Linked DNA regions of Homo sapiens: all the other regions are linked to region 3. Evidence: promoter capture Hi-C in 16 types of primary human blood cells and fetal thymus (Javierre and others, 2016). All regions are on one chromosome and are shown on one strand. Each heading gives the region's core, a stretch centred on a gene start or on the middle of the fragment in contact. The rest is flanking DNA. Distances are from core to core; before and after follow the strand shown. Region 1 has its middle 180 kb from the start of CXCL13. Region 2 has its middle 150 kb from the start of CCNG2. Region 3 holds the start of SHROOM3 (shroom family member 3). Region 4 has its middle 220 kb from the start of CCNG2. Region 5 has its middle 200 kb from the start of CCNG2. Region 6 has its middle 100 kb from the start of CCNG2. Region 7 has its middle 180 kb from the start of CCNG2.

Region 1 (2,700 bases), core at 75-2,574, 990 kb after region 3:
TTATCTGCTACCTTAGAACCTTTTAAACAAAATAAGTGCAGTGGGATTGGCTGAATGCTTATAACAGCCTTGGAGAAAGTTGGGAAAGAAAAGGCTGAGCTTAAGCCTTCAAATTCTAAGCTTAATCTCTGTATAAATAACCTGAACTTTCATATCTGTCCTGAAATGACCCTTTATCTGCTATAGCTGCAGGGTCAAGATTTCCAAAAGTCAAACCCAGAGTATCACATCCAGTGAGTGATTGAATTCCGATGTGAATTGGATTCCCAGCCTCATCAGATGACTTCTGTTTAAGTGAGAGCATTGATTGAAAAGAAATAGGATTCTGAATAGAGAAATTTGGGCAGATTCCAATGAAGCTGGGGACATCAGATTCCTAAATTCTGTGGATTTTCCTTGGCTGGTAAAAACAGCACTTCTACCCCTGCCCAGGGTGGTTAGCTCTCCATTGTCTGAGGTTGTTGCTTTGCAAGGCACCACTGATTCTCCTTAGGGTATATTCCTGGCATCTGTTTCCAGACTTAGACTCATGTTCCAAAAGCTCCTAAAGGGTGAAGTACAAAGTATGACCCATGAGGAGATGCACAATCTCAAAATAGCTGCATGACTTTTCCTTATTTTTATACAGAAATACAGGGAATATGTAGGAATGAATCTTCAGAGAGGGGTCATGATGAAAAGAATATAAAGTTGGATCAAGCTAAATTTATTCATGTGTCCATTAAGCACAGATTCTAGGTTTATTTTAGCTTTAGGGGTTATAAAGTGTTCTGTCTGTTTAAAATGTGGACCCAAAGGTGGCCTACACTAAATGAAGTTGAAATGCTAGACATGTGTGGGCCTCCTCTAGAGGAAGGGTATCAGAAGGCTTAGGGAGGTAGGAATCCTGTAATGGATTTGTCACATAAGACCCTTTTACCTACCCCAGGAGGGTCTAGAGGACCTGCTTTTTATTACTTTGAGAAATTTGAGTGTCCCAGCACCCTTCTAAGAGCTTGGTTGTCATTCTCTGTAGGTCAGAAATTACACTGGGAACTGCTACCATGAAACTGCCACCCTTAAATACAATAGGGATAATGGAATCTTAGGGTAGGAGAAGCTAGGTGGTAGTACTTAAACACCAGAGACAGGCAGGAATAATTAGTGTAAAACCAAAGCAGTAATCAGAATAGACTGACTCGGAGACCCATGCTATTCACTGATTGAACACGATATCCCTAGAAAAGTAATAGAAAAGTAAATTCTTGAACAGCATAAGTAAGAGTTCTAGTAAATGGTCTAACTTGAATCAGCAAAAGTCACAGCCCCTCAATCAATTCCCAAACATCAACTAGTTCAGACCAAGAATCGTTTGAAGGGGAGACTTGGTCTCTTTGAGGAATGATATTGCTGTATGACTAAAAGTTCATACTGTTAATATTTTTTCCAGCCTTCCCCAAAAGGGCTTATCAGTGTGACGATGCACTAGGGAAAGGAAGATAATCAGGCTTCTCAGGGATAACTAGACACTATGAACTGACAGTAACTCCTGTAAACCCAAAATATCACTGCAGTACAGAAGGGAGAGGCTTATGAAGGTCAGGTCATAGAATTTTAGCTAAGGGTCAATTCACAGTGTGGGTCAAGTGGGTCCCCAAACTCATCCTGTGGTTATTCCCCCAGTCTGGAATGTATATTTATAACAGACATACCCAGCAACTAATAGAATCCCCTTGTGTGTTCCCTGACCTGTAGAATGAAGACTTTTTGGTAGCAAAGGCTAAGTGGAAGTCATTAGTACTACCTCTACCTACAAAAACAGTGAACCAAAAGCAGTACCATATTCTAGAGAACAGTGCCAATATCAAGGACTTGAAAGTTGCAGGGATACTGCTTCTTGCCACATTCTTAACTTGCCTATTTGGCTTATGCAGAAGACAGATTCTGGAGAATGACAGTTCAGGATTGTCAAACTTAGTCAAGTGGTGACTCTAGTTACTGTTGAAGATGTGATTTGTTATTCGAGAAAATTAATACAACCTTTTGGTACCTGGTATGCAGCTATTGATTTGGCAAATACATTTTCTATACCTGTTAGTAAAAACCATCAAAAGCAATTTGCTTTCAGCTAGCATGACAATATGTTTTCACGATTCTACCTTAGGGTATCAACTCTATCCCTATGTCATAGTCCACAGATCTTGATTACATTTCCTTTCCATAATATATGCTGGTTAATCATATTAATGATATGCTGATTGGGCCTTGTGATCAGGAAGTAGTAACTAATCTAGACATAGGATTAAGACATTTGCATGACACTAGAAAATAAATGCCACCGAAAATCAAAGGGCATTCACTTAAGTGAAATTTCCAAAGGCCCAGTGGTATGGGGCACCTTAGGTACATCTAAGGCAAAAGTTTATTGCAAATGGCTCCTCCTACTGCCCAAAGAGGCACAATGCCTAATTGGCCTTCTCGGATCTTCGCAGAAACATATCTTACTGAGGTATGCTACTCCAGCTCACTTACCAAGTTACTCAAAGCTATAAGCTTTGAATAGGTCCCAGAACAAGAGAAGGCTCTGCTACCATTCAAGGTGCTTTGCCACTGGCCATATGGCTTAGCAGATCCTGTGGCGATGAAAGTATCAGTGGCAGATAGGGATGCTGTTTGAAGCCTTGAGGAGACCTCCCATAGATAAATCACTGAGTCAGGATT
Region 2 (2,700 bases), core at 65-2,564, 870 kb after region 3:
AAATCTGTTAATACAACATCCTAGAGCACAGGCAGCCAGTGATTCTGAGTGATGAAGGGCCTGATTCCACTTAACTACAGAATTGTCTTGACATTCAAGGGGGAGCTTCCATGAACCATTTCTGGTGCTACAGACTGTGGAATGGAGTATTGATGTTACTTCTCTGGCAAAACTATATTCTATACTTGACTCTCAAATGGATCAACTGTTACATGTGGGTCAGGCTCAGGAAGAAAGGGTTACAGAGCCTTGGCCTGGTGAAAAGTTGGCTAGCACTTGCCAGTCTTTATAAAGCACGGGGAGGTAAAATGCATCTACCCATTCAGCTCAGTAAAGCACTGCTCTTTACTTATAGCAGTCTCCTATTAGAAGCTCTTCCTTCCTATTACCGACATTCAGGAACTCAACTGATCCCAACTGGTAAAAAATCACTCTAGAAATGCACATGAAAGCAAGTCCTGCACCTAAAGGCTAGAAGGCACTTTTGTAGGTCTCTTCACTGGCTTATTTGACCAGATAGGTCAAAAAAAGTTGATCAGGGTATTTGGGCTTTCCTTCCTCTGAAGGAGACACATAGTGACTCTAGGGTGTAGTATCTGAGTCCATAGGACATGGCTATTAACTGATCACTGAGTTCCTCCATGTTTTATGAGATGTGGCTGGCTCTGAGCATCTATTTCTTTTGAATAAAGCAGTCTTGGGAGTGTGTACAGTGATACACAAGCTTGCTTTCACATCTGAATGTACCTGAGTGTGCCTAGTTGAAATTAAAAGCTTTTTCATTGCTGCCTTGTGGCCTCATACATGCAGATGCCAAAAAGGAATTGAATGTTTGAGTTGTGGGAGGAGAAAGTTCTGTGAGGGATACAGGAGAGGAAGCTGGAAAGATCTGGGTGTAGATCCACTTATAATGCAGGTCAGGCCCTGTGAAGGAAAATACTGGATAGGAAGTAGCTTAGACTGAGGTGATACTAAGTGCCTTGGCAAGGCCGATGGCAAATACTAGAGCCCAGATTGCCCATTAGAGGAGTGGTGAGTGTCCTAAATAGGACGGCCTTAGCATCCCAGCTGCACCTGGGCATCAGTTGGAAACGACCACACATGGGATGTATGGCATTCTAATGGCTCCACAGGTGGCCACTGTGCTGCACAGGTACACTTATCTGTACAAGTTGACAGAAGTAACTGTCCCACAGGCTCCTGTTCTTGAGGGGAAACTGAGGAAAGATGGTGGGATGCAATGTGGCTCCTGTGGCTGGAGTTGATCTTGGGTCAGAATTGAAACTCATTCTCTGCCACCTCCTGGTAATTATGCAACAATGCAATTGTTGACATACTCATCACTTTGATCTCTACAAACTGATTCGAGCCTCACTCTTATAATCTGGATGATTCTTCTTGTACCCACGTGTGGGTTTCCAGGCTAGGTCTGCTTGGATTGTATTTCAGTATAAGGCAGAGACTTGGTTAGAAATGAACTGAACATAAGACTGCCTCTATCAGAGGCAGGTACCTAAACATGGAGTTTTAAACGAAGTATAAGGGCCTTTCTGGGTTCTGGGGTCTTGAGTCAGGGTTGGGGGAAAACTAACGAGTTGTTGGTCCTGTGAGAACCCCATACTGAGGCAGGATTGTACATGTAGGAACTTACTGGAAGGCAGCTATGCTTACCAGTGTACCACCTAAGCTGCAAGAACTTATTTCATGTTCTGTCAGCCAACCCACTACCTGGAGTTGCCCCAAAAGCAACAGCTGGGGAGTTCACTCATGGGACTTGCCCACCATCCCAAGATGGGGCCAGCTGGGAATCCAAATGCACTAAATGCCAGGGGGATAAATCTAAAACACCTACCAGGAAGCTTGCTTACAAAATGCAGGGATCCTTGTGGATAGTGAAAGGGTATCTTGGGTATGTCCCCAATGAGTGGGACAGGTTAGTGTTTTGAGTCTTCAGAATTTGACTAGGCATGGGGCTAGCCTTTACGTGTTAATCAACATGCTTGATGCAACAGCCTAAACAAGTTCGTCAGTGCCTGAGAATATTCAAGGACCCTGGCTTTGGTTCAAGCTTGGGAATACATGCAGCTGGCCAAGGTATTCTGTATCTGTTAGTCTGTCTGTTCTTTCTGTTGCAATAGATGCCTGTGAGAAAACAGGAGCTGCAGGAGAGCCTTCATCCCACAAAAAGAGGTTCTCTATAGAAGCCTCATGTGGCAGTGAAGTTACAGAAGAGTTCTGGGTAGACTGGTAAATCTGAATCCAGGTTGATACAGAAGGGTGAAAAAAGCATTATAAACTCACACTGATCCTACACTAGGTTTATGTCCTACAGCAGACACTTTTCCGATGCTGTCTCAACATTTGTTTCCCTATTGTCAGCCAAATGACTGCTGACTTTGTTTTGGAGATTATTTCATATACTGTTTATATCCTTGGTCATTCTCAGCCATAGGTCTGGATGACTTGAGCATATTAGGGCATCCCATTTCCCTGCCTACATTCCCATGACTACCATAGATTGTGAAGGGATGGGCATACTATCAAGATGGGCATGCCACTAAAACCCAAGGTGATACTGCTGGAATTGATTGATAATGTTTCAAGAAGAGCTTTGAAATAAATACCTGAAGTGTAGAGCAAGTCCATCATGATGGGAGAGTCTGGAACTTGCCATCCAGAGGGTTGTAGTGGGGCTCTGTA
Region 3 (2,700 bases), core at 12-2,511:
GCCTCATAAATTAATTTTTTCAGAAAGAAAGCTGTTCATTTACCTAGGACTTTTATTTAAAATACATATGTTCTTTGAAATGAAAGAAAAGCTAATGTTTCTCCATTTATTCTAACTTACAAATTAAGCTGTAAAAGAAAACCACAATAGAAATTGCGTAAATTACCCTTAAGAATCAGCCAATTTTTACCACATACTTTCATTTGGTACACCTTAGGTTTCCTTATGTTTCCATTCACATACTACCATTACATAAGGTTTTACTTTTTTTTTTTTTTTTTTGTCTTTGAGCCCTTCAAGTGAAGTTACCATTGAAAATCAAACAATACCTGTCCAGTGTTGTAAATTAAATATCGTGTAGTTTGATATCATATACCTGCCTTTCCATATCAGCCTTTCATTAATTATAAGTACAAACACCAAAATAATTGTTATCAAGCCCCACAGTAGTTTTTAACTTCAGTTTTCAACTTAATTCTCATTATCCCATACTTTTAAACAGAAAAAAGTTTTAGTACATATATTACCTGGAAGTAATTCTAATCTGTTCCAATAACTAAATAGCTGAGGCTTCTGGGTTAGATATGGTTATCTTCTACTGTTCAAATTTTTAATACAAAGCATGAATGTTAAATTTGTATATAACATTATTACAAAATGACACTGGTAACATGAAATCAGAACAACATTCTTTCCCGAGTACCTAGTACTTACCCACAAGGCATTGTAGATTTCTTTTCATTTAAAGAGTGGATAACAATCTTGGAGTAGATAACAATGAAAACCTAGAAAAAAAAACCCACCTCCTGTTTTTATTGAGTCAAACAAGCAGAACTTTGATTGGAAAGTCCCATTTCATATATTACACTGGTAGTATTTTCTTCTAACGAAAAAAAAAAAGCCCTTGTGCCACCACCTTGACATGTACTTAAACGTTTACCCAAATCACTTAGGCATTGCTTCTCAAACTTGGCTGCATAGCAGAATTGCCTGGAGGGTTTTTAAAAACACAAATGCCTATGTCTCACTCCCTGAAATTCTCCTTTAATTGGTACGAGGCGGGGCTATTCTAGGAACTATTTTCTATCCCTTGGCAATTAGCCATCTGTATAGTATTTTTAACTTCCTACGTGTTATTAACTGTAAGACTGTTTGAATTGTCAGGTCTTTGTGGTGAGCTGAATTCTGCATGGCAGTGCTTACTGTGCAGAAAGGTTGCAATGCCTCACTTTGCCTTAATCCATGTTCCTCTAACTTCCTTACTCTTTCTCTCAAGAGGAGGCAAGTGGCTGTGGCGGCCGCAGCAGTGGCTGATCATCACTGAAAATACCAAAGAAAAGAACTGAGCTGCCTCCTTCATATTTTTTCCATTGAGGATTAATTTACCGTGCTTTTTCATTTTCTCTACATCCTGCAAAAGTTTTTTTCTCTCCTAAGAAACAAACTATGAACTGATTGTTGAAAAAAAGAAGTAAAAAGTTTTAGCACAGCTTCTCTGTCTCTTCGGGACAAGTTAGAAAATTCTGAAGTGAGCCGAAGCATAGTAAGTGCTTTCTTTCTTTTTAAGCTACTTCTGGGGAGGGAGGAGGCTATTGTAATGGTAAATTTCACTCCGAGAGGAAGAAAGGGTTGATAATCAATCAAAAATGAGGTATTCCTTTGAGTATTTGTGATTTTCTTACTATATTGTAAGATGCTTTTAATTTTCTCTGTAAAATAGGCAGAAATGGTTTTAGTGTGTGTATGTGTGAAATAAAAGCTCAGAAAAGCAATCTTCAGAGCGCCACTGAAGGAAGTTTTGACGAACGGAGTAGAGATGTATACCACTTGGGGGCTTCAGTGAGAACCCAGAATTCCTGGAGGAGGATTTACATTCAGAAATGTTGAAGTGAAAATTCCTTCTGGTTCAGCATCTTGGAGTTCAGCTTGGAAGAACATTTTACGTATGGAAGAATTTGCTTCTCCAAACCTCTCTTTTGGCCATTGTGTGTCCTGAAGGATGGGACAACTTGTGCTGTAGAAGCACTGCTTGCCTGAGTTTGCTTCAGGCATTTTAAATTTAACTTGAGGGATCATGTGTTTGGCATGATGAGGACCACTGAAGACTTCCACAAGCCTAGTGCCACATTAAACTCTAACACGGCCACCAAGGGAAGGTACATTTATCTGGAGGCATTCCTGGAGGGAGGAGCTCCCTGGGGTTTTACTCTAAAGGGTGGCCTGGAGCACGGAGAACCATTAATCATCTCTAAGGTATGTTTCTTTTTCCAATATTGCCTTTATTCAAATTGTTTTTTTCAACTTGTCAGATTTGTCAAAAATGCAAAATAATGAGAACTGCCTTAATATAACTTAATTTGCTGTTTCATGCCTTTCTGATTATCTAGAAATATTTTGGATAGCCTGGGATTTGAAAGAAAAATGTGTCTAGCTCATTTATTCTATGAAATCCGAAGAAAAATATGCCTGTTTGATGGATAATCTTCTCTTTTTGTGAATGAAATCGCATACAATCAGTTACCACATGAGCTTTTCAGTTATAAATCAGATTAAAGATTAATAACATGGTTAAGATGGTGGCATGGTATATATTTGTGCATTCAAAAATATCTGCTTTTTCTCTCTTCAACTGAAAATAGCATCTAAAAATATTTTAAGTTTGCTTATAATTCTGGATAATAGATTGCATAAATACCATGT
Region 4 (2,700 bases), core at 69-2,568, 950 kb after region 3:
CCTGATCTTTTGTGTTTTTCATACACACTAAATTTACATAAGCAGAATATGTATGGATATCTTTTCAGGTCTCACAGAAGATATACCAGTGCAGAGAAAAATGACTGAATTCCAAGCCCCTCACTGATGGGAAGATAGATATTTGGCATCTTCTCTACCCTGACCAGTTTGGTGGCTGTGTGTTGGGATCCTTTCTGGCCTCCCTGAATGTATAAAGCCAGCTCTTGGACTCTATCTAGACCACTGGTAAACCCACAGAGGGCAAGGCTTTTCCTGAATTCAGGAGGTAGAACCAACTTTGGCTTTCAAGACATTTGTCTGCTTGGACTGGACAGGTGAAAGACACACAAATTCCCTCAGTGAGGAGCCAGCACTAGGCAGGAAACAAGGAAAAGAGGATAAAATACGTATCTAGGATGACAAAACACTGGAAGAAATGACTAGAAGTTAGAATGAAGCATGTCACATGTGAGACAAGCCAGCAATGGGCAGAAAACTACTTCAGGGGAATCTAGGTTAGTTTCTCGATACCTAGCATATTGTTCTCAGGAATATCTTTAACCTTCTAGTTGGTTCAATTGCCTCAGTTTCCTTTTATCCTTGAAAGCTTGTATCCAGATGACTATATGCTTTGGTTTAAGGTCTCTGTTTATGATAACTGGTGACCAGAGGGCTCCCCAGGCTTTTTTTTTTTTTTTTTTTTTTTTTTTAATAACAAAGACCATTGTAATGCATGTCAGAGGGGCAGTCAGTGTAGATCTGCCAGTCCTTCTTCAGATTCATTGCTGAATTCCCTGGACACATTGCTTCATGACACATTGCTGGGTTACTTGTAACTCAAAAACATAAGCATGAGGGAGTCGAAGCTGTGGGAGGCATAAAGTACAGAGAGGCCTTGCTGGATGATGAGTGGTCTCTGACACAAAGAGTAGTACAGTTAGAGAAGTGGAAAGACAATGGAACAGGACCCTGAGTCTCCAGGGATGGCAAGTTGTGGGAGAGTAAACACATGGTAGATAAAGCCTAGTAAGTAAAGCTGGATACATTGTTTTAAGGAATGAACTCTCTCTTATCTGCTGCTTCATTGCCTTCTGTTCACAGTCATGTACTTCAGCTTATAGATTTTCTGGGGTGGCATATTATAGTCTCCCATGGTGTGTTAAAACTATGTTTCTTTTCCTTCCCCCATTGTCTTTGATCTCTTCATCTTTATCCTCTTAGCACATTCAAGGCATAGCATATTCTAGGTCTGGGGATGGGAAAGTGCAGGTTGGTAACAGAAGTTCTCCTGAGACTGACATGCATGAAACTAGGTAAACCCAATCCTTTATGTCTGTGGAAAGGGGTTTGCTGTGGACCATACACCATCACCTGATCTAGAAAGTTGCATCAAGAAGTCTTCTAAGAAGGAATGAAATGTGAATCTATAGCCTTAGTGTGACTAGGTCTTGCAGTCATTCTTGCATGTGGTGCCAACATGACGTCCCGAGCTGATATTGTAACCTCAAATCTATTAGTCCCTTCCCCTACTCATCTTTTTTGAAGCCTTGCTGTTTTGTTCACTGCCAATCAAATAAGACTACAATTTGGCCCCCTGTGTTTCAGGAGTACCCTTCATACCTCCACCATGAGCCTCACACATAGTTTTGCTTTCTGTAAGCAGAGGCACAAGTCTCTGACAAACCTGTTTTCTGTCCATTGGTCATCAGAGTAAATTGTTGGCACCAGTTCTGCAAAATGTTGTACCTCATCTTTTCACTTTATTGGTGGGGGGCAAAACATTTGGCAAGTGGGGATTGGTATTTTATGACTTGGTTTTGGACAAACTTTGATTTACTCATTTGAGGAAGATAAACTTTGTCTAGGCTTCTTTAGCTTAACATCTGCAGTTGAAGAAACACTAGGTTCTGTTTTCTCAGGTTCCTCTTTGACTAGAACCAATGTGAAAATCCAATTTTCCTTGAAATTCTTGCTGCTGTGGTTGAGTCTGACATTCAGAAAAAAACAAGTCAGTTAACAATGTTTGGTAGAAGCTTTAAATGAAATGGCAGCAGCATGCACACTGGAGGATTAGCTGAGTGGCATCATGATAAAGAACATATTTTGACAGTTATGTGGGTCCCAGTCAGTCTGAATTCAACAATCCTTTAATCAAAACACATGAATCCTGCACTCTGGTCAGTCTGGGTTCCTCTGGCTGCTTTTGTTCTGGATGTTCATTGATGAGGTGCTCTGTGAGGCATAAATGGAAGCCATAAGTAGAGAGCCTCACCAAGGAAAGTCATGAGTTCACTTGAGTCAAGGGTAGAAAGATACTGCTCATAGTAGAACATAAGAACAGAACTGGGATCCAAAATAATTGGCCCAGAGCAAATGGGAGGTAGTAACTTGACAAATCTTGAAATACTAGGATTGGAAGAGGGTAAGGATTATTGTTTGGAAGAAAGAATTCGTATACCTCAGATATCACATCGATGTGGAGTACAGTTACTATCCATCATGTTAGGGTAATAGAGGAATGGGCCTAGTCATCTCCCTGACTTAGATGGTCTCCCTTTGAATGGAGTAGCCTTCGGAGTGTCTAAGGGATATTCAAGCTTGCTTTCACGCCTGAATTTAGTGTATCCGTTTTAATTAAAATGAAACATCTTGACTGCTAGCTTTTGTCCTCTTATATGCAGATACCAAAGTGGGATTGGA
Region 5 (2,700 bases), core at 38-2,537, 920 kb after region 3:
GACCGGCCTTGCTGGGTTTCCCCACTCAGTCTGTGGGCATTAGGTCATGCCCTTGTCCAATCACAGTTGGACACAGCTGTCCATGCTTCATTAAACCTAAGCAGAAAAATGGTAATAGCAAGTTCTCCCTTTGGGCCTTCACTCTGGCTCCCGTGTCACATACAATTGATAGGAATCTTTTTTGCTTAAAACAGCTGTGTGGAACATACAGCTGTAGATGGAGGCAGGTTTGGGGAGATAATGGGTTAAGCTCAAAGAATGGTCTCAAAGCAAATGACTCCAAGTAGAAGGTGCTTAGAGGACCTCAGTGGGGAACAGATGCTGAAGTGCTGGAGCAGAACAAAGTGCCAGAGTCAGCTGCTTCCTGTGTCAACGGCAAACACCCAAGTGGCTGAGGGCCACAGTAGTGGAGGGTGGCATGTCTTTCAGAAGGACCCATGCTGGAGCAGCATGGTACATTCCCAGAACCAATGTGTCCACACTTATCTCCTGGGTGTAGAAAATACTTTGTGTGAAAGAATAAGTTCATGTCCTAGAGTCTGTTTTCACCATGCATGTGTTTTACTGCACACAAGTTCTATGCAAGTGAGCCTTCCTAGGCCTCTCAGGCTCACTTAGTGTTTCTCTTAATGTGAAGAATATTGGTTATACAGCATAGTAAACAATGAATATGAGATGTGGGGACACAGCAGAGCACACGGCAGCTCACTGATTTTCTTCCCTGCACTTGTGTGCAGCTGAATCTGCTGGTAAACACCCAAAGGGTCATCTCGGTGTATTTTCTATTTGTGTAGTGTCAGATCTAAAAAATCTTGCCGAAGATAATGAATGAGCAGATGGTAACTTCAGATAGCAAAGGAAGTCTATGGCACTTGGGTTCATTACACGGGACATTACATCAACTGGAAAATGCTGTCTGGAGCATTTAAACAGTGTATTATACTAGTCAAGGCAGTTCTCAGAGTTTTGTCTAAGACTTCCTTGGGGTTATGGTCCCTGTTACCATATGTTGAACTTACAGGCAAACAACTACATAAGGTAATTAAGCTCAAGTTTTGGTCTAGGTTTAAAAGTGAGTTCTGACTTGGCAAAGTGTGTTTTTTTTTTTTATCTTACAGGTACATATTCTGCTTACGTAAATTTAACATTGTTTTTTAAGGTCTCATGGATTATGCAGCATCACTTTCTAGCACTCTTCTTTGAGGACTCCACTGGTGTAGAGATGAATATCTCATCCTCCACTTCCCACTACTAGTTGAGTGGCTCAGTGTGGATCCTCCTTGGCATCACTGCATGTACAAAGCCAGTTCTTGGACTCTATATAGGCCATTGAGCCCATAGTGAATGGTACTTTATAATTCAAGGAGGTAAAACAAACTCTGGTTTCTCAGATGTGTATGTATTAGGTTGGATAAATGAACCAGGCAGGAAATGTTCTTGGAAAAGAGCCATACACTAGGCAAGAAACCATCTAGAGGTAAGATCACTGGAATCTAGTGCTATAATAGGCGGGAGAGTTAGGGTGTAACTACAGAAACAAGAGGAATTCATAACCATGACGTGTCAGGGGTGCCAGCATAGGGCAGAACATGCCACTTGAATGTTCCAGAGTTGAAGAAGACTACATGTTTAGGCATCCCAGGCATAGGAGAGAAGACTCATACTCTTCAAAGCCATTTTGCCTGTGTTGCAGGTTGGGCTGTTTAGAAACAGGTTGAAGTGGAATTTGGCATGAAGTATGGTATTTAGAGATCAAATTGTGTCTAAGAGATGGGAAAGCAGGATAGGGCTAACTGTAGTGTGGGGCCCAGAAGTGCCTTGGCCAGTGTCGGCATGCATGTGACCCATCATGGTTGTTCCATGGTGGCCTATCATGGTTGTATCATGGTGGCCTGAGATTGCTGGCCTGCATATGTCTGTAGTCAGCAAGTGGATGAGGGCTGCTAGGGGAAGGGGCATGCCCTTGGAACTGAGGCAAACTCTGTAGAGGTGATGGCTGGAGGCTGCTGGCTGTGCTCCAAGCAGTTGCGGTAACAAGCCCTTGTTGAAGGGGATCTGGTGGTACATTCCCATGCCCTCAATCCAGTGATCTGGTGGAGCTGTCTACCCTCTTTAGTCTCTTGCCTGAGTTCATGTGTGGATATGCTCAGTGTGGCTTTCTTGCTCAGGCCCTACCTTTCCTACTGAGCCCCAGATGAATCTGAGCTCTTTCAGCACTAGATGCTTGACAAGACAGAAGCCATGAAGTGACAAGACTGTGTTCTATTCTGAGACCACTACACGATCACTTCCATTCTTTTAACCTACCTAGGATTAATGTAAGAAGTTACTGTTTATAGGGTCTAAGTGTTCTGAACCGCTTTATGGTACGTCTAGCGGGGGTGGTCTGTATGCCTCTCACATGTCATGTCTATAGCTTGCAAAATTGACCAAATTAGCTTGGCATGCTATATCCATGCCCCAGATGGTTTGGACCACTAGGCAGACTTTCTTTGCTTTGATAATAGATAGGTCCAGGGTTTAAAACTTAAAAAGCTACCCTCTATCTTTATCCTCTGTATTTTGCCTCTCAGAAAACCCTTGCAGGGAAGCACAACCCAGGCAGAATGGGTCCAGTGGCTGCAGCACAGATATTCTAGGCCCCTTGTCTGAGGTTCCTCAGGTGTGGGGGGTACATGTCCAGGAAGGAACTGTCCTGTC
Region 6 (2,700 bases), core at 93-2,592, 820 kb after region 3:
ACTGCCTGGAATATGTGCCCATGTAAGCATGGAGGCCAGATGGGTAATGTGGGCTGTGTAGGTACTTGAGTAATCATGAAGGGAGGGATCTCCTTTGTGAAGCCTATGATTCCTGGAGTAGCAGCTTCAGGGTAGAATCCATTTTACAGTATATAACAGCACTGTAATGGGCTGGAGTTCTGGGAAGCTGCATGTTAACACAATGTTTAAAGAACTGACCAATATCCCAAATCATGTCAGACCCTTCTTTCTCAAGTGGGACATCAATTGGACTGACCTTCATAGGGATGAGAACTTTCATGCCCTTCAATAGCAGTGTGCCTAATTCTGAGATCTACAAAGGTGTGGCACTTAGAATAGCTAAGCCACAAGGCAAAGTGCAAGACAATAGAGATGACCCAGTGAGTGGGAGATGGCATAGTCCATGTGAGGTGGGAAGCCTCTGAGCTGGCCCCCAGTGATCCTTGACTCCTGGTATTCCAGCTTGTGTTAAGCCCCTTCTCTTGAGAGTAGATATAGTGGCTTGCTGCTTGATGAAGTGACAATGGAAGAAGTGGCAGGTCCCTCCAAATACATGGTTAGATACTAGCTACTGTCTTAGATTTCCTGTATCAGTCCATTTTCATGCTTCTGATGAAGACATACCCAAGACTGGGAAGAAAGAAGTTTTAATGGACTCATAGTTCCATGTGGCTGGGGAGGCCTCACAATCATGGTAGAAGGTGAAATGCATGTCTCACATGGTGGCAGACAAGAGAACTTGTACAAGGAAACTCCCCTTTATAAAACCATCAGATATTATGAGACTTACTCACTATTATGAGAACGGCACAGGAAAGACTTGCCCCCATGATTCAATTACCCCCCACTTGATCCCTCCCACAACACATGGGAATTCAAGATGAGATGTGGGTGGGGACACAACAATACCATATCACTTCCCTTACTCCTTGTCTTAGAACATGTGTTCTAGGAGAACTAAGCTGCTGTGTTTGAGCCACCCCACTGAATGGCCCACATATGATGGCAAGGAGCAGAAACTTGGAGCCCAACAGGCTGAAGAGCTGGAGCTTACCACTGAGTGAGCTTGGAAGCATCGTAGTCCTCCTGATGTCAAGGATATGATCCAAGAACCACTCCCCCCTGGCCACCTTGTAGATGCCTAACCCTATATACACTGTATTTTCTCTGTACATATGCACCTATACACAAAGCATACATACACAAAGCTTAACAGATGAATTGGGCACACTAAGATTAATAAGAAAATAAAACTATAACATACCAGCATCACTACTAGTATACCTTGGGACTTAGGTAAAATAAGGGTTGCTGGAAGACGAACACTACAATGCCACAGAAGTTGACTTAGTAACAAATAATAACTAATGGCTGGGTAGTGTGCTAGGTGTGGATACCCTAGACAAAGGATGACTTAAATCCATGGTGGGTGGAAAAGCTTTTTGATGTGCTGCTGGATTCGGTTTGCCAGTATTCACCATGATCAAGTGGGCTTCATCCCTGGGATGCAAGGCTGGTTCAACATACGCAAATCAACAAATGTAATCCAGCATATAAACAGAACCAACTACAAAAACCACATGATTATCTCAATAGATGCAGAAAAGGCCTTTGACAAAATTCAACAACCCTTCATGCTAAAAACTCTCAATAAATTAGGTACTGATGGGACATATCTCAAAATAATAAGAGCTATCTATGACAAACCCACAGCCAATATCATACTGAATGGGCAAAAACTGGAAGCATTCCCTTTGAAAACTGGCACAAGACAGGGATGCCCTCTCACCACTCCTATTCAACATAGTGTTGGCAGTTCTGGCTAGGGCAATCAGGCAGGAGAAGGAAATAAAGGGTATTCAATTAGGAAAAGAGGAAGTCAAGTTGTCTCTGTTTGCAGATGACATGATTGTATATCTAGAAAACACCATCGTCTTAGCCCAAAATCTCCTTAAGCTGACAGGCATCTTCAGCAAAGTCTCAGGATACAAAACCAAAGTGCAAAAATCACAAGCATTCTTATACATCAATAATAGACAGAGAGCCAAATCATGAGTGAACTCCCATTCACGATTGCTTCAAAGAGAATAAAATACCTAGGAATCCAACTTACAAGGGATGTGAAGGACCTTTTCAAGGAGAACTGCAAACCACTGCTCAATGAAATAAGAGGATATAAACAAATGGAAGAACATTCCATGCTCATGGGTAGGAAGAATCAATATCATGAAAATGGCCATACTGCCCAAGGTAATTTATAGATTCAATGCCATCCCCATCAAGCTACCAATGACTTTCTTCACAGAATTGGAAAAAACTAAAGTTCATATGGAACCAAAAAAGAGCCCAGATTGCCAAGTAAATCCTAAGCCAAAAGAACAAAGCTGGAGGCATCACACTACCTGACTTCAAACTATACCACAAAGCTACAGTAACCAAAACAGCATGGTACTTGTACCAAAGCAGATACAGACCAATGGAACAGAACAGAGCTCTCAGAAATAATGCCACATATCTACAACTATCTGATCTTTGACAAACCTGACAAAAACAAGAAATAAGGAAAGGATTTCCTATTTAACAAGTGGTGCTGGGAAAACTGGCTAGCCATATGTAGAAAGCTGAAACTGGATCCCTTCCTTACACCTTATACAAAAATTAATTCAAGATGAATTAAAG
Region 7 (2,700 bases), core at 79-2,578, 900 kb after region 3:
CCTAGGCCATAGAGATCTAGAATGGGGTTAGTGTCGGTAGACTTGGGGACAGTGACAGAGATTTGCACAGGGTTACATTGTTGGAGTTGAAAATTGGAGGGAGTTCTCTCTCTCTGGTAAAGTGGATGTAAGGCTTTAGGTCAGTGCAATCTCCTCCCGGGGAGGTCCAGCCTTGATACTTGGTGGTCCAGACCAAATCTTCCCAACTAGGACAGAACTTCCAATAACTGCTTTGTGCTTGCTTGGTGCAAGAGTCAGTTTTGTAGGCAGTCTTATTTATCCTGGAATGGCAAGGGTACCTTTCTGAAGAGGCAAGCTTTCTTTGGCTTTGGAGATGTCCACAGGGCATGACAAGACAAGCATCAAAGGTAATGGTTTGAGGAGAGCTAGATCTGGTTACATTGATACTAAAGTGTGACTAGCAATAGAAGGGAAAAAGAAATAAAACATAAGAGGATCAAACCTGTTTTAGCTTTAACTTGGTTGGAGCTGGCCCTGGAATAGCTGTCCATGATTGTGGAGGAGGTGGTCTTCCTTTGACCTGAGTGTGATGAGCCATCCCTTTTTGGTGGTGCAGACAGCTGTTCTTGGTCCTTAGAAGCACTAGATAGGATCCCTCCCAGGTGGGCTCGAGCTTCCCTTCTTTCCAACCCTTGATGAGGACGTTGTCTCCAGGCTGGTGGTGGTGAACTGGAAATTCGAGGGGTGGCCTCTGTGCTAGGAGGCCTTTGGTTCTAAGGGAAGAGAAAGTGGAGGATGGACCAAGTATATAGTTTTTGGGGAATAGATCTTTTGTTTCAAATGTAGGAATGTCAGCAGTGGAGTGTAAACAAAGCAACCCAAACAGCATTTCATAAGGGGTAAGCCAACATCTTTTGGAGGGGCAGTTCAGATTCTCAACAAGACAATGGAAAGGCATTTAATCCACGGTAATTGAATCTCTAGGACTAATTTGGTTAGGTGTTTCTTCAGAGTCTAGTTCATTCTTCTCTTCCTGATGAAGGTGGGTGCCAGGGGATATGGTAGTCCCATGTTATATCCAGTACTTGGGCTAGTTTCTTAATGACATTTGTAGTGAAATGAGTCCTATTATCTGAATCAACATTTTCTATTAATCTGAACCTGGGTATAGTATTTTCAACAAATGTCTTGACTGCATTGTTAGCAGTTGGACTTGAAAAGGGTGAATAGCTTCTACCCAATGAGTAAGGTGATCTACTATCACTAATATTTTAAGTGACCGATTGGGGGCATTTTGGTGTAATCAACTTGGACACTTTGGAATGGTCTTAATCCTGGATTTCTCCCAAGAGGTGGTTTTCTGAGGGTCTGCTTATTAATTTTCTTACATACTAGGCAACTATCTGTAACCTGTCTTGCTAAAGTATAAATTCTTATACATTCCTATAAACCCGGAGGCCTGCAACATATGTAGCTTGAGGTCCCCAAATGAGTCCCTTAATGCAGACGAGAGAGAACTTCTCTCATGAGGAGTTTGGATAACATTTCTCTTTGATCTGGTAACACCCATTTCCCTTATGAATTTTCTTTGTTCCCTATTTTTATCTTTTTCAGCGGGAGAAGAAATGGGGATTGCAGTTGGGGGAGGAAGACAAGGGGCTAAGTGAAAAACAGGCATTTCAGAGGAAGTGGCAGTTTGTTTGGCTATTTGATATGCAAGGTTATTCCCTTGGCCTTCAAAAGCGATACCTTTCTGATGTCTTGGAACATGGACAATAGCTATTTCTTCTGGTAACTGGAAGTTATCTAATACCTGAGTGATTAATTCTTTGTGGACCAGGTCTTGGCCTTTGTTAATAAGACCTCATTCAGTCCAAATTTTTCCAAAGGTGTGAGCTACCCCGAAGGCGTACTTGGAATCAGTGTAAATAGTCTCTTCTTGTTCTGCAAGTGCCTTAAGGCTTGATTTAATGCAAACAATTCACATGTTTGGGCAGACCAATTAATGGGCAGTCTTTCTGACTATTTCAAGGGCTTCCCCATGACTACTGGGTACCCATTATGTCTCTTTTCTTCAATTACTCAGGAAGAGCCATCTATAAGTGCTGCCCCATTTTGAAAGGGGTCTCTCTTAAATCAGGCCTAACTTTTGTATGATAATTAAATCTAAACATTCATGCTCAGGTCTCTTTAGATTTGATTCCCAGTCAGGAAACTTGCTGGGTTAAATGAATTATCAGTTGTTAGGGTTAAATCGTGTCTTTCTAACAGGATAGCTTCATACTTTAAAATTCTTGGTCAGTGAGCCATCTTCCTGCCTTCTGATTCAAGATAGTTCTAACCTGATGGGGCATGCTTACAACTAAGTTTCCCCCAAAGGCAAGCTTTCTGCTTACTTTAGTTAACAAGGTGGTAGCTGTGATGGATTGAATACATTCAGGCCATCCACAGGCTACTGGATCTAAAACTCTCAATAGGAAAACTATGAGTTTCTGGTGACCCTATCTTCTTGGTTAAGTACCCCTAAAGCTACCTCCCTATCTATGCTAACAAAAAAGTGAAATGGCTTCTCTAGGGAAGGCAGAGCTAAAACAGGGGCAGTTATGAGCAGATGTTTTAGTTCCTCAACCTGGTGGATTTCTTCAGAAATCCACAGGAGACGGTCAGACTTTTCCTGGATAAGTTTTAGGTATAAAGTTTTTGTTTTTAGGGCATATGAGTCAATCCATAAGTGGCAAT

What was found. The method cuts DNA at HindIII sites, captures the fragments that hold promoters and counts their contacts. A CHiCAGO score of 5 or more calls a contact.
Region 1: a fragment that was not itself captured here is called in contact with the fragment with the promoter of SHROOM3 in region 3 in 1 of 17 cell types (activated CD4 T cells); the score reaches 7.5 in activated CD4 T cells.
Region 2: a contact is called between a fragment that was not itself captured here and the fragment with the promoter of SHROOM3 in region 3, in 2 of 17 cell types (total B cells and naive B cells). The highest score is 7.7, in total B cells.
Region 4: a contact is called between a fragment that was not itself captured here and the fragment with the promoter of SHROOM3 in region 3, in 1 of 17 cell types (total B cells). The highest score is 5.1, in total B cells.
Region 5: a contact is called between a fragment that was not itself captured here and the fragment with the promoter of SHROOM3 in region 3, in 7 of 17 cell types (total B cells, naive CD8 T cells, activated CD4 T cells and 4 more). The highest score is 7.3, in total B cells.
Region 6: a contact is called between a fragment that was not itself captured here and the fragment with the promoter of SHROOM3 in region 3, in 1 of 17 cell types (total B cells). The highest score is 5.5, in total B cells.
Region 7: a fragment that was not itself captured here is called in contact with the fragment with the promoter of SHROOM3 in region 3 in 1 of 17 cell types (naive CD4 T cells); the score reaches 5.5 in naive CD4 T cells.

What each region holds. Positions count from the first base shown.
Region 1 is chr4:77,428,617-77,431,316 of GRCh38, forward strand. No RefSeq gene overlaps it. Among named protein-coding and RNA genes, the nearest start is that of CXCL13, 180 kb to the right of the region's middle. The HindIII fragment of the contact is 2,412 bases long and covers 119-2,530 here.
Region 2 is chr4:77,304,658-77,307,357 of GRCh38, forward strand. No RefSeq gene overlaps it. Among named protein-coding and RNA genes, the nearest start is that of CCNG2, 150 kb to the left of the region's middle. The HindIII fragment of the contact is 1,085 bases long and covers 773-1,857 here.
Region 3 is chr4:76,433,968-76,436,667 of GRCh38, forward strand. SHROOM3 (shroom family member 3) reads left to right here and starts at 1,262. Exons shown (of 11, transcript NM_020859.4): 1 at 1,262-2,253. The coding sequence starts at 2,086. The HindIII fragment of the contact is 11,529 bases long and covers 1-2,700 here.
Region 4 is chr4:77,379,799-77,382,498 of GRCh38, forward strand. No RefSeq gene overlaps it. Among named protein-coding and RNA genes, the nearest start is that of CCNG2, 220 kb to the left of the region's middle. The HindIII fragment of the contact is 1,426 bases long and covers 606-2,031 here.
Region 5 is chr4:77,354,380-77,357,079 of GRCh38, forward strand. No RefSeq gene overlaps it. Among named protein-coding and RNA genes, the nearest start is that of CCNG2, 200 kb to the left of the region's middle. The HindIII fragment of the contact is 4,351 bases long and covers 1-2,700 here.
Region 6 is chr4:77,255,908-77,258,607 of GRCh38, forward strand. No RefSeq gene overlaps it. Among named protein-coding and RNA genes, the nearest start is that of CCNG2, 100 kb to the left of the region's middle. The HindIII fragment of the contact is 230 bases long and covers 1,228-1,457 here.
Region 7 is chr4:77,334,653-77,337,352 of GRCh38, forward strand. No RefSeq gene overlaps it. Among named protein-coding and RNA genes, the nearest start is that of CCNG2, 180 kb to the left of the region's middle. The HindIII fragment of the contact is 2,029 bases long and covers 315-2,343 here.